2 separate regions of the Homo sapiens genome follow, and region 2 is linked to region 1. Evidence: promoter capture Hi-C in human tissues and cell types (Jung and others, 2019). All regions are on one chromosome and are shown on one strand. The core of a region is centred on a gene start or on the middle of the fragment in contact, and the rest is flanking DNA. Distances in the headings are between cores, read along the strand shown. Region 1 holds the start of ACTRT2 (actin related protein T2). Region 2 has its middle 54 kb from the start of ACTRT2.

Region 1 (5,389 bases), core at 253-2,752:
ATGGGTCAGTGCCTCCGTCCACACCTACTGCCTCAGGGAGCCCGGGGTCTCTGAGACGACTGCAAGCAAGCTGTGTGGTGGCTGCCACAGTTTCCAGAGAAATGGAGATTTAAGAGCCACACCTGCCCTGGCACGCTTTTGACTCAGTTTCCCTCTGGGGGGGTCCCCTCTAGGAAAATCCTTCAATAATCAAGTTTTTGTTGACTACCACCCAGGGATTAGTGGGGCCCACAAAACCACGTGTCAACAAGACACATCTACACCACACATCAACAACGAGTGTACCGCGCGTGTCTACACCACCCATCTATCCCATGCATCTACACGGCACATCCATATGCGTCTGTACCTCGTGTCTACACCACATGTCTGTACCACGTGTCTAGACTGCCCATCTACAACATGTGTCTACACCACCATCGGATTAATGCCTGCTGGTGGGTCAGCAGGGCAGGCAGGACACACAGAGGGGGCCACCAGCAGGAGCTGAGGGGCTCCAGGAAGGGAGTGACCCCGGGAGGCGTCCTCTGGGAGAACTCTGGGGGGCCAAGCTGGGCTGGAGCATGATTGTGGATATGACAGGAGAGGTAGAATAAACCTCACATTCTCCAAGGCCACCTCCAACCTCCTTAGGAAAAAAGTGAAGCTGGTTCCCAGGTTGGATCCCCTCCCACTTTCTCCCCAAGCGGAAGACAAAGCGGGGGTCTGAGTGCCGGGCGTGCACTGTTGTGGGTGCCCTTGGCCTGGCCCGGTGCCTCCTTCCTGGTCATGCTCAGGCCTTGACCTTTAATGGCCTGGTCACCTCTGAGCATTGCTCTGTGGTTGTGGCCTGACTGTGTGGCAGCTCATAGACACAGAGAGGTGTCACAGGCTGCAATCCAGGCTACCCATGTGAAACCAGCAGGCCATATCTTCAGGGCTGTTGGGTTCCCAACTCTATGGCTGCTGGACTTTGTTGTGTGCTGGCACTTCAGAGTCTGCAGAGAGGAATGAGGGGTGCTGGCCTCAAGCCAGAGCAGAGATGTATTCCTGGACAAAGGGCCAGCAGCCCAGAGGGCTTTGAATAGGGTCTACCCAGTGGGACAGACAGCCAGGACTAATGGGATGGAGGGAGGAGAAATCCCTGAGAGCTTCCTGGGGGAATCACTATTCAAAAGCACATTCTAAGTGCCTGCTGGGACAGAACTGCTTACAACACCCCTCCGACCTGGTGCTTGGTTTTCCCCCTTAGCAAAGGGAAGTGTTGTCACCCCAGAAGTTGCAGCTCAGGGGCCAGAGAAGCTGGTTTTCTAGGGTGCACGCAGGCTGGGCTGCTTCTCTCCACTCTAAAGCTAAGTCTCTGCCTCAGCCCACAGGCTTGTCCAGCACCGCCCTAGGATGCACTTGTCTCTCTCTCTCTCTCTCACCTCACCCTGTGGGGGATGGGGGACTCAGAGCCCCACCCCCAGGGCCTCTGAGGCTCAGGACAATCGTTGCCTTGGCTAGATTGTTACCTAGGAGACAACCCCCTGGCCCCCTGGAAGAGGCCTCAGCAGGCCCAGGCCACCTGGAGGGAGAGCAGACCTGCGGCTGAGGATGCAGGGCTCCCGGGCACGGTGCTAGCCCTGCCTTGAGACACCCCGAGAGCTGTGGGAAGAGCTGTGGGATCCCCTATTGCATCACAAAGCGGCCCTGGAGGGCTGGTCTTTATTTTGATGAGGCTGAGAAGGGAAGGCTGCGGGCATGTTTAATCCGCACGCTTTAGACTCCCCGGCTGTGATTTTTGACAATGGCTCGGGGTTCTGCAAAGCGGGCCTGTCTGGGGAGTTTGGACCCCGGCACATGGTCAGCTCCATCGTGGGGCACCTGAAATTCCAGGCTCCCTCAGCAGAGGCCAACCAGAAGAAGTACTTTGTGGGGGAGGAGGCCCTGTACAAGCAGGAGGCCCTGCAGCTGCACTCCCCTTTCGAGCGTGGCCTGATCACAGGGTGGGATGACGTGGAGAGACTCTGGAAGCACCTCTTTGAGTGGGAGCTAGGCGTGAAACCCAGCGACCAGCCCCTGCTTGCAACGGAGCCCTCCCTGAACCCCAGGGAGAACCGTGAGAAGATGGCAGAAGTCATGTTCGAGAACTTCGGCGTGCCCGCTTTCTACCTGTCGGACCAGGCGGTGCTGGCTCTCTACGCCTCTGCCTGTGTCACGGGCCTGGTGGTGGACAGCGGGGATGCGGTCACCTGCACTGTCCCCATCTTTGAGGGTTACTCCCTGCCCCACGCAGTCACCAAGCTCCACGTGGCGGGCAGGGACATCACGGAGCTCCTCATGCAGCTGCTCCTGGCCAGCGGCCACACCTTCCCCTGCCAGCTGGACAAGGGTCTCGTGGACGACATCAAAAAGAAGCTGTGCTACGTGGCCTTGGAGCCCGAGAAGGAGCTTTCCCGGAGGCCGGAGGAGGTCCTGAGGGAGTACAAGCTGCCCGACGGGAACATCATCAGCCTCGGGGACCCGCTGCACCAGGCGCCCGAGGCCCTGTTCGTGCCCCAGCAGCTGGGCAGCCAGAGCCCCGGGCTCTCGAATATGGTCTCCAGCAGCATCACCAAGTGTGATACCGACATCCAGAAGATCCTCTTTGGGGAGATTGTGCTGTCGGGGGGCACTACCCTGTTCCACGGGCTGGATGACCGGCTTCTCAAGGAGCTGGAGCAGCTGGCCTCCAAGGACACCCCCATCAAGATCACGGCTCCCCCCGACCGGTGGTTCTCCACCTGGATTGGAGCCTCCATCGTCACCTCTCTGAGTAGCTTCAAGCAGATGTGGGTCACCGCCGCAGACTTCAAGGAGTTTGGGACCTCCGTGGTGCAGAGAAGATGCTTCTGAAGGCCGCTTCTCGTTGGGTACCGTGGGGGGTGAACCCTAGCCCCAGCTTTGGGAGGATGTTCAATAAAGGACCAATGCCGGAACACCTGGCCACCTCGGCTCAGTTCCTTCTTGGGGGCGGCAGAGTCATTTCTGGCCCTGACAGTGAATCTGTGAAGTGTCTTGGTCCACACCCGCTCCCCTTCGCTTCCTCCCAAGAAAGCCTGGGCTGAGGCCAGGCTGTGTCCATCTGCAGTTTGTATGAAAGTAGGGCCCTGGGCCTCAGGTGAATAGGGCGCTGGAGTCCGCATTCTAAACAAGGGTCTTAGGTGGGCTGAGAGAGTCGGCAGGGATGGTGGGGACTAGCGCGTGCACCAGGTTCTGACGGCTCAGCAAGAAACCCCTCCCTGTGTGGGCCCTACCTAGCATGCCAGGGCCGGGGCTCTGCTTGTGTGAGGCCGGGCGGCTGAACAGGGTGGAGCTGCCGCTCTCAGCAGATAGGAACAGACGGGAACAGAAGTCACCGTTTGTTTAGGGCCCTCTAAACTCAGGGGTCCTGCTCCCAAAGGAAGTACAAAGAATCAACACTTCTGCTTAGCAAGTGTGATTCTTCTGTTTGTTTTTACTTTCAGTGATGTTTATAGCATCATTGTTTGGGGGCAGAATGCTGGAAACAAAGTTAATGGCCATCACCAATGTTAACGGTTGAGTAAATTATGCATGGAGGGAATTTTTCCACATTGATGTGGTGGAATTAACCCAAAATATTATTGGGAGAGAAGTGGAAAATACAGATAACTCTTTACGCCATGGTCCTTCCCTTGGTTTTTTGGAAAAGAAAACAGCGCCCCTTCCCCATGTCTTTGCCTATGTCCGCTGCTTCGTGTGGACCCATACCTGTGTTCTATGTGGTTACCAAGTGCATGCACTGTGGGTTCCAGCATGTCGCCAAGGGAAGAGGGAGGGAGACGCAATGCAGGCGGAAAGAAGAAAGGAGAAAAAAGTACTCAGGAAATTCAGCCTGAATGAAATAAACCCATTTACCTGAAATGCGTGTGTCTTTCAATCTTCACAAAGTGCATCTTTTTCCACCATTTCACTTTCAACCGACCTATGCTGTTGGAAGTGAGCATGGGGCTGGTGTGAAGACGGCGTATAGCTGGGTCGTTTTCTTATCCACCCTACCAATCTCTGCCTTTCAGTTGGTGTATTTAGTCCATTTACCTGGTAACTCATTGATACACGGAATCTCAAGTCTGCCATCTGATCACTCTCTGCTGTGTCTTCTGCTTCTCATTCCTGTTTCTCTTTTCTTACCTCCCTCTGGGTTACTGGAACATGTTTCAGGATTGTGTCTTGATTTATTTAGCGTGTTTAGAGTACCTCGTTTTTGTAGGTTTCTTAGTGGTCACCCTGGGTATTACGCCGTATATGCCGGGATGTATATGATGTCACAAGCTACGGGCATTGACATGGTACCATTAGAGGGAAACGTGAAACCTTCTTCTGTCCGGGACCCTTCCCCCTCACCTCTAAAACACAGTTGTCTTGTCTGCTGTGTGTGCACTGAATGCAACATCAGGGGGGCTGAGATTTTTCCTTCAACCATCAAATATGATTTAAGAAGCTCGTCAAGTCGAATCTATTGACCCCTATTTTTACCCAATCTGGTGTTCTTTTGTCCTGTCTGAAGCCCAAGACTCATTGTGCTGTTATTCCTCCTGTGTTTAGAGAGCTTCCTGCAGCCATTCTGCAAAGATAGGACACTGGCAACAGAATCTTTGCCTTCCTTCAACTGAGGTGACTTAATTTCTCCCTCATCCCTGAAGGCTGTGTCCACTGCAGTGGAATCTGCAGGTCACCGTTTCCTTTCAGCTCTCGGGCTCTCCAGCCGCCTGGTTTCGATCAGGCATCCTCTGTTATTCGCTGGGCTCCCCAGGTCATGGGTCAGGTCTCTGTGGCTGCTTCAGAGTTTTCACTGTCTCTAGATTTCAGAAGTTTAATTTTGATGCGTCTCGGAGTGGATTTCTTTGGGCTTATCCCATCACCTTTTCCCACCGCGTGAATGCTGGGGGTTCACATCCCTGCAGGGAGCCCACTGACCCTAAGGTTCAGGCTGAAGTGGTGGCGATGAGACTGGCTCACACCACCTGGCTCAGCCTCACTGCTGCTGCTGGGGGCGGTGGGGTGGGGTGGGGGGTGGAGGGAGGTGGGGATAGGATGGGGGTGAGATGGGGAGGGAAGGGGATGGAGTGGGGTGAGGTGTAGGGGTAATGTGGGGGTGGGAAGGGGCGGGAGTGAGGTGGAGGTAGGGTGTTAGATCAATTCCCCACTTTCCCACTGAAACCCAAAGGTGGGGTGTGGTGTTTTCATTGGTGTTGAGCTGGAGTAAGGAAGGTGTTTCCAAAAAGCTATTCTGCTGGGTCACCCTGTTCCCAGGGGGAACAGGCTTTTCTGGGAGCTTTTTGTGTCTGTGCCTGTTGGAGATTTGGGTCAGAGGCTTCTGAGCACCCTGCTAGACACGTGTGGGAGACAGTCAGGAAGCCTAGGAGCC
Region 2 (5,858 bases), core at 933-3,432, 54 kb before region 1:
CGTCCATCTATTCACTCACCCACATACTCGTCTTTCCGTCTATCCATTTATCTATCCACCTACCCATTCATCACAATTCATCCATCCATCCTACCATCCCTCTACTCATCTATTCATCCAAATCCATCCATACTACCATCTACTACTCATCCATCCATCCATCCACTCATCCGTCCATCCACCCACCATCCATCCATCTTACTACTATTCATCTATCCATCCATCCATCCATCCACTCATCCATCCTTCCACCCACCATCCATCCATCTTACAACTACTACTCTTCTATCCATCCACCCATCCATCCATCCATCCACTCATCCATCCATCCACCCACCATCCATCCATCTTACCATCTACTACTCATCTATCCATCCATCCATCCATCCACCCACCATCCATCCATCTTACCATCTGCTACTCACCTATCCACCCATTCATTCACTCATCCATCCACCCACCACCATCCATCTTACAAAATACTACTCATCTATTCATCCATCCATCCATCCATCCACTCATCCATCCATCCAACCACCATCCATCCTTCTTATCATCTACTACTCATCTATCCATCCATTCATCCATTCATTCATCCACCCACCCACCCATCTTTCCACACATTCATTCAATGACTATTTCCCAAGTGGCCATTTGCTAAGTACTCTGTCTGTTCAGAGATATGGTGGTGAACAGACAAGTCTGTGCCTTTGTGGAGTCTACCGTCTTGTGGGAACAGGGAAAGCTTAATCTATCATTACAAACCATGAGGGAAAAAGTCAAGAAAATAAGTTGTCCTGGAGGTTGCAATGGGAAGAGGACTTTCTGAGAGGGGGAAGTTAAGCCAAGACCTGTAGTTGACAAGTAAAATGACATTTGAAGGGTGAAACTCCCAAGGCTGGACTAAGCTTGCCCCTGGGGTTGGGGCCTTGGAAAGGGCCACAGCCAGGATGGGCCCTGGAAAGCAGAGTGGAGTCTCATGTTCACAACACATCATGATAGTGCCTTGTGCTCGAAGTCTCCATGGAAGGACAGACCCAGCACCTCCAGGGAGTGCAGGGTGTTGGGAGATGCTCCTTGGGAGATTTTATGGATCGTCTGTGCTGGGTGGAACAGGGCACCTCAAGATTCATGTCCACTGGAGCCTGCGAATGTGACCTTATTTGGAAATTGCGTCTTTGTTGATGTGATCAAGTGAAGATGAGGTCACACTGGATGAGGGTGGATCCCAAACCTAATGACTGGTGTCCTTAAAAGAAGAGGAAAATTCAGACACACAGAGGAGACACAGAGGAGAGGCTCTGTGAAGAGGAGGCAGAAATTGGAGCCATGCGTCTACAAGTCAAGCATTGCTGGAGCCACAGAAGCTGGAAGAGGAGAAGCGTCCTCCCCTAAGGGCTCTGGAGGGACCACAGCCCTGCTCACACCTTGGTTGTGTACTTTTGGCCTCCAGAACTGTGAAAGAATAAAATTCTATTGTGTGGAGAAGTTTAGCGCTCCATTTATGCTAACTGTTAGGGTAGCCCAGGAGGCCAGCACTTCACCCCCAGCTGGGCCCACCTCTCTGTCTCGCAGCCGCAGGGCTCCTGGCTGGCACGATCCTTGCTGCATGCCCAGGACACAGCAGCTTCAGGGCAAGGCTGGCATTTTCGTTCACTGCCCATCCCACCTTAGGCCTGAACCACAGCTCTGGGGGGGAGCCCGGCACCTGACCTGGCACGCACAGTAGTCACTTTAGAATGTACAGCTGGTTACTTCATTTTTTGCAAAACAACCATGGCTCTCCCTCCAGCCCATTATCCATCTTGAGCCCTGTGGCTTCCACTCTCACAGCTCACAGCCAGGGAGGCCTCCAAGCCGGCCGCCACGCGTTCTGACCCAGCCAGGGAGGTCTCCAAGCTGGCTGCCACGCGTCCTGACCAGCTGGTGCAGCCCTGATGAGGGTGGGGTCTCCTTTATCGCCTATAAAAATGAGAAATCTCTAAACAAAGAAACTCCACCCACTTTGTAGCTGAGACTTGGGTAGAATTCAGTTTCCCACTCAATGGGAAATGATTTATAAGAGCTGTGGAGGCCAAAGAGGTTGGCCTGGAAAGCAGGCTAGACAAAATAATTTATCAGAAAATTCCCAGTGACCGTCTGTAATGGTTAGAATGCAGCGTGGTGAGGGCCTTTCCCAGCCGGGTCAGGCACTGGGGAGTTGGGGGGTGGGGTGCTGCCTTGGCAGCCGGTGCCTGGTCGTGGCTGGGTTCAGAGCCGAGCGGATGGGCAGACACACTGTGTCATTGTCACAGAGGTGCTGCTGCCTCTGCCGCCCAGAAGCATCTTCCCTGGGAGGACCTGGCGCTCCCAACCAAACACGTTCTGGGTGAAATTGGAGCTCATTGGTCCCACTTCTCAGGGCCCAGTGTACCGTGGGCTCTGGGAGGCAAGGAGCCCTGGAGGACGGTGAGAAGAATGCTGAGTTAACAAACCAAGCAAGTGGCCTTCCTCGTGGGGAGCCAGGGAAGCCTTGAGTGGCGCTTGGGGCAAGTCCAGCTGTATCCATGGGGCAGCGGGGCCCTCGGGTGCTGGACGCCCAGGGAGCCCCAGCCTCTCCCACCCAGGCTGTAACAGACACATGGCACGGGGGCTCGCACCATGCTCCCCAAGCGGTCGCACCCCCCACCAGCCGAGTGACTGAGGCTGGAGCACGGGACCTGCGTCCGGCCAGCGGCTGCACAGGGTGACTGTCTCTGGATATGGGAGCTGCAGCCTTGTTCTCGGGCCCTGTGCACTGACCCAGGGCATGGTCAGCTCAGTCTCCTGCCCTCTCCTGCCTAAAAGGAGCCCAGACATCCACTGAACTCAGTGGAAGAGCAAGGTCAAGTTACAGAGCCTCCCGAGAGTCCAGCCTGCTCTCCCATTTCGGGTGAAAGCAGTCCCAGCTACTCGGGAGGCTGAGGTGGGAGGATCACCTGAGCCTGGGGAGGTGGAGGCTGCAGTGAGCTGTGACTGTGTCACTGCACTCCAGCATGGAGGATGAAGTGAAATCTTGTCTCAAAAAATAAAAAAAGCTCAGTTCGGTTGAGTGCGGTTGGGTTTGAGCAGCCTGAAATCCCCAGAATCGGTGATTCCCTGAGCAGGGAGTGGCACAAGGTGAAGCATCCCTGGCCTTGGACGCATCAACACTGCATGGGGCGAGTGGACACTGGCCACACCCGTGGCACCCATGCAGGGCTGGTGGACACAGGAGGCTCCCAAACCCATGCTGCTACTGTTTCCAGGGCGGTGTGCCCACCTCATCACCGGAGTCAGTGAATATATCACTCGGGTCACACTCTGTCCTCTGAAATGAATGCTGATTTGGAAACCACTCCCCCAATAAGACGGGTGAAAGTTTCCATTTGGAAAAGAGGTTTTTTGTTTTTTTTTCTTGGCAGGAGCCACTTTCTCTGAGCACGAAGAGATGGCCGTGTGGTTCTTATCTTTGAACCCCATGTACTTAACGCTTATTAAAATCAATACCATCCATTAGCCAGCAACATTTCCATGTTTAATCATCTATTGATATACGGCCTGTGCTTTTATAGGACTAAACAAATTTCCGCTCTCTGTGCCCCTCTGCAGCCTGGGGGCCGGCGGGTGCGCGGCTGCGGGACGTAAATGTTTATTTACTGCCTGCTTCCTGATTGAGAACATACCTGGTCCGTGGCTTCAGATGGCTTTTACACGGGGGACTTACGGCCACTTCCTGTTCTCCAGACACACAACACTGTTTTTAAGGAGCGTAATGAATGCACGGTATTGTGGACGCAATCGCCGCCCTGGCCCAGCCCGAGCGAGGGCAGAGCCGGATCGCAGGGCTTGTTATTGACTTATTCATGGGCTGTTCTGGGGGGCAGGGTGCGCTTGGCCCAGCTGCGGAGCTGCCGACTCCTCTCTGCTGCACTCTCCCAGGCCTCGCCAGGCCCCAGTCTCGTGAGCGTTCATCTGGGAAAGCAGGGCAGGACCGAAGTGACCTCAGAGAAGCTGTGGGTGCCCCTTCTGCCTGCGTGTCCATGTTCCCGAGGCCCACCAGCCTCCTGCCTCCTTTCCACTCCCCTTCCCCTCCCCTGGGCTGTGGCTGTGATTCCTTTGAGCTGCTTTGCTGATCAAGGGGGCAGAGCCGCAACTGTTTACAGACAGAGCTTTAGAGCCCTGCACAGGGCTGGGTATGGGGAGCCTGAGACCACCCCTCTCTGCCCCTCCCAGGCATGGTGAAGAAGGGGCTCACGGGACCCTGCGGTCTGGGTGGCACCTGGGGAGGCTGCTGCGGTCCTGGCCTAGGGTGGCCGGTCTGGATGGATGGAGGAAGGTCTGTGGCTAGGGCCTGAGAACCAGAGGGACAGAGCCTCCCCAGCCACCAGTGCCTGCTTCACCCTGGGCCTTCCAGCTGCAAATCTTGCTTATCCGGAAGTTTCCTCTGGGGGGACTAGTTCCTGCCTTCCTCATCTTATACACACCATATCTGCTGGGAGAGTGTCCCTGGCAGGGCCAAGCAGGGACTCAGATGGCCGGGAAGGTTGCTTGGGGCTGGGGACTCAGCAGACACCTTGGGGAGGGGTGTGTGCCTCTCCAGAGTCCTGTGTCTCAACTTCAGAGAGAGCCACTCTTCCTGTGGGACACCTGGGCCTGGGCCTGGGCCTGGCCTGACGGGTCCCTTGACCGTAGGTGGTGCAACCCAGGTGACCCAGGCTGACTCCTGGGGCAGGGCTGTTGTCCCCTCAGCCACACTCACCATTAGGGGCTCAAGGCACCGAGCTGGGGGGAGTCCCAGGCCACAGCCAAGACACGGTTCCAAAGACTCTCAGGAATTTGGGGTGTCCCAGGGGCCTCCTGGGGGTGGGAGTGGAGTGAGGCACGGGATGGCCGTTTCGCGCCAACAGAATCAGCTTCGTCTCTGCCTTTTCTACTTTGGTTTAGTGGTTTAGTGGTTTGTGGGGAAAGAGCCCCGCTGCTAACATAAGGTGAAAGGCATCTGTCTGCCAAAATGAGGAATCCGAGGCCCAGAAAGAGGAGGCCCTGGCTGAGCTCGGTCGCCACAGCGGTGTGAACAGGTGCCCTGACTTTCAGTGCCTGGTGCCAGGCCCCCGCCCTCTGGCTGAGGGTGTCAGGGAGGGGCTCCGGCTGCAGAGACAGCCGTTATAATAGACGCCTCTCTGTGCACTGGGATGGCGGACTGGCCTGCCGGCGCACCACCGGCCACCCAGCGCAGGACACCAGGCCCTGTGAGCAGCAGCTGCTGTGGCCGTGGGTTAGACATGCGTCTGTGATCGGTGGCTTCATAAAACGCCTTCTAATGAAAGTAACACACAGCACAGGAGGGCGGCCCTGGGCGCGGGGCTGCGTCCCCGAGAAATGCTTGTTACTGTGGAATGAGGGACAGAGCAAATCCCCTGAATCGGGCAGAGCTGTCGTTAAATCCCTTAATGACGGCGGTGTTTTCTCTGGTGCGCCGAACAGTTCCTTATAAACCCCTTTGGCGTGGGAGGGGGGGTGATGGGGATGAGGGCAGGACAGAGCGGGGGCATCTGCAAATGGCCTTTCTGGGGGCTGAGACCTGGGGGCCCACTTTACCCTTCCCTGTCCTTGGCCCCTTCTCTGCAGTGGCTGGGCGGGCACCTGTGTTCTCCTGCCTGGAGTCTGGGCAGAAACGGGGCTGGCAGAGACGCAGCCTGCAGTCTTCAGACTGACCCTGTGGCCGGCCATTGGGTGACCTGGCCAAAGCGTGCTGAGCACTCGCCCTGTGCTGGGCGTGGGGCATGGGCCCGGGGACAATCCAGAGCCTCCTCTGGTGGCCCTCAACAGATGTCCATGGGGCTCAGTGTGAGGAAGGC

Evidence for each region. The method cuts DNA at HindIII sites, captures the fragments that hold promoters and counts their contacts. A contact is called where the count stands out against the background at its distance.
Region 2: a contact is called between a fragment that was not itself captured here and the fragment with the promoter of ACTRT2 in region 1, in 4 of the 25 tissues and cell types used here (hippocampus, mesendoderm cells, pancreas and 1 more).

What each region holds. Positions count from the first base shown.
Region 1 is chr1:3,019,965-3,025,353 of GRCh38, forward strand. It overlaps ACTRT2 (actin related protein T2), which reads left to right and starts at 1,503. Exons shown (of 1, transcript NM_080431.5): 1 at 1,503-2,939. The coding sequence starts at 1,723. The coding sequence ends at 2,856. RefSeq lists an enhancer at 4,385-4,554. The HindIII fragment of the contact is 18,700 bases long and covers 1-5,389 here.
Region 2 is chr1:2,964,880-2,970,737 of GRCh38, forward strand. No RefSeq gene overlaps it. Among named protein-coding and RNA genes, the nearest start is that of ACTRT2, 54 kb to the right of the region's middle. The HindIII fragment of the contact is 6,143 bases long and covers 1-5,254 here.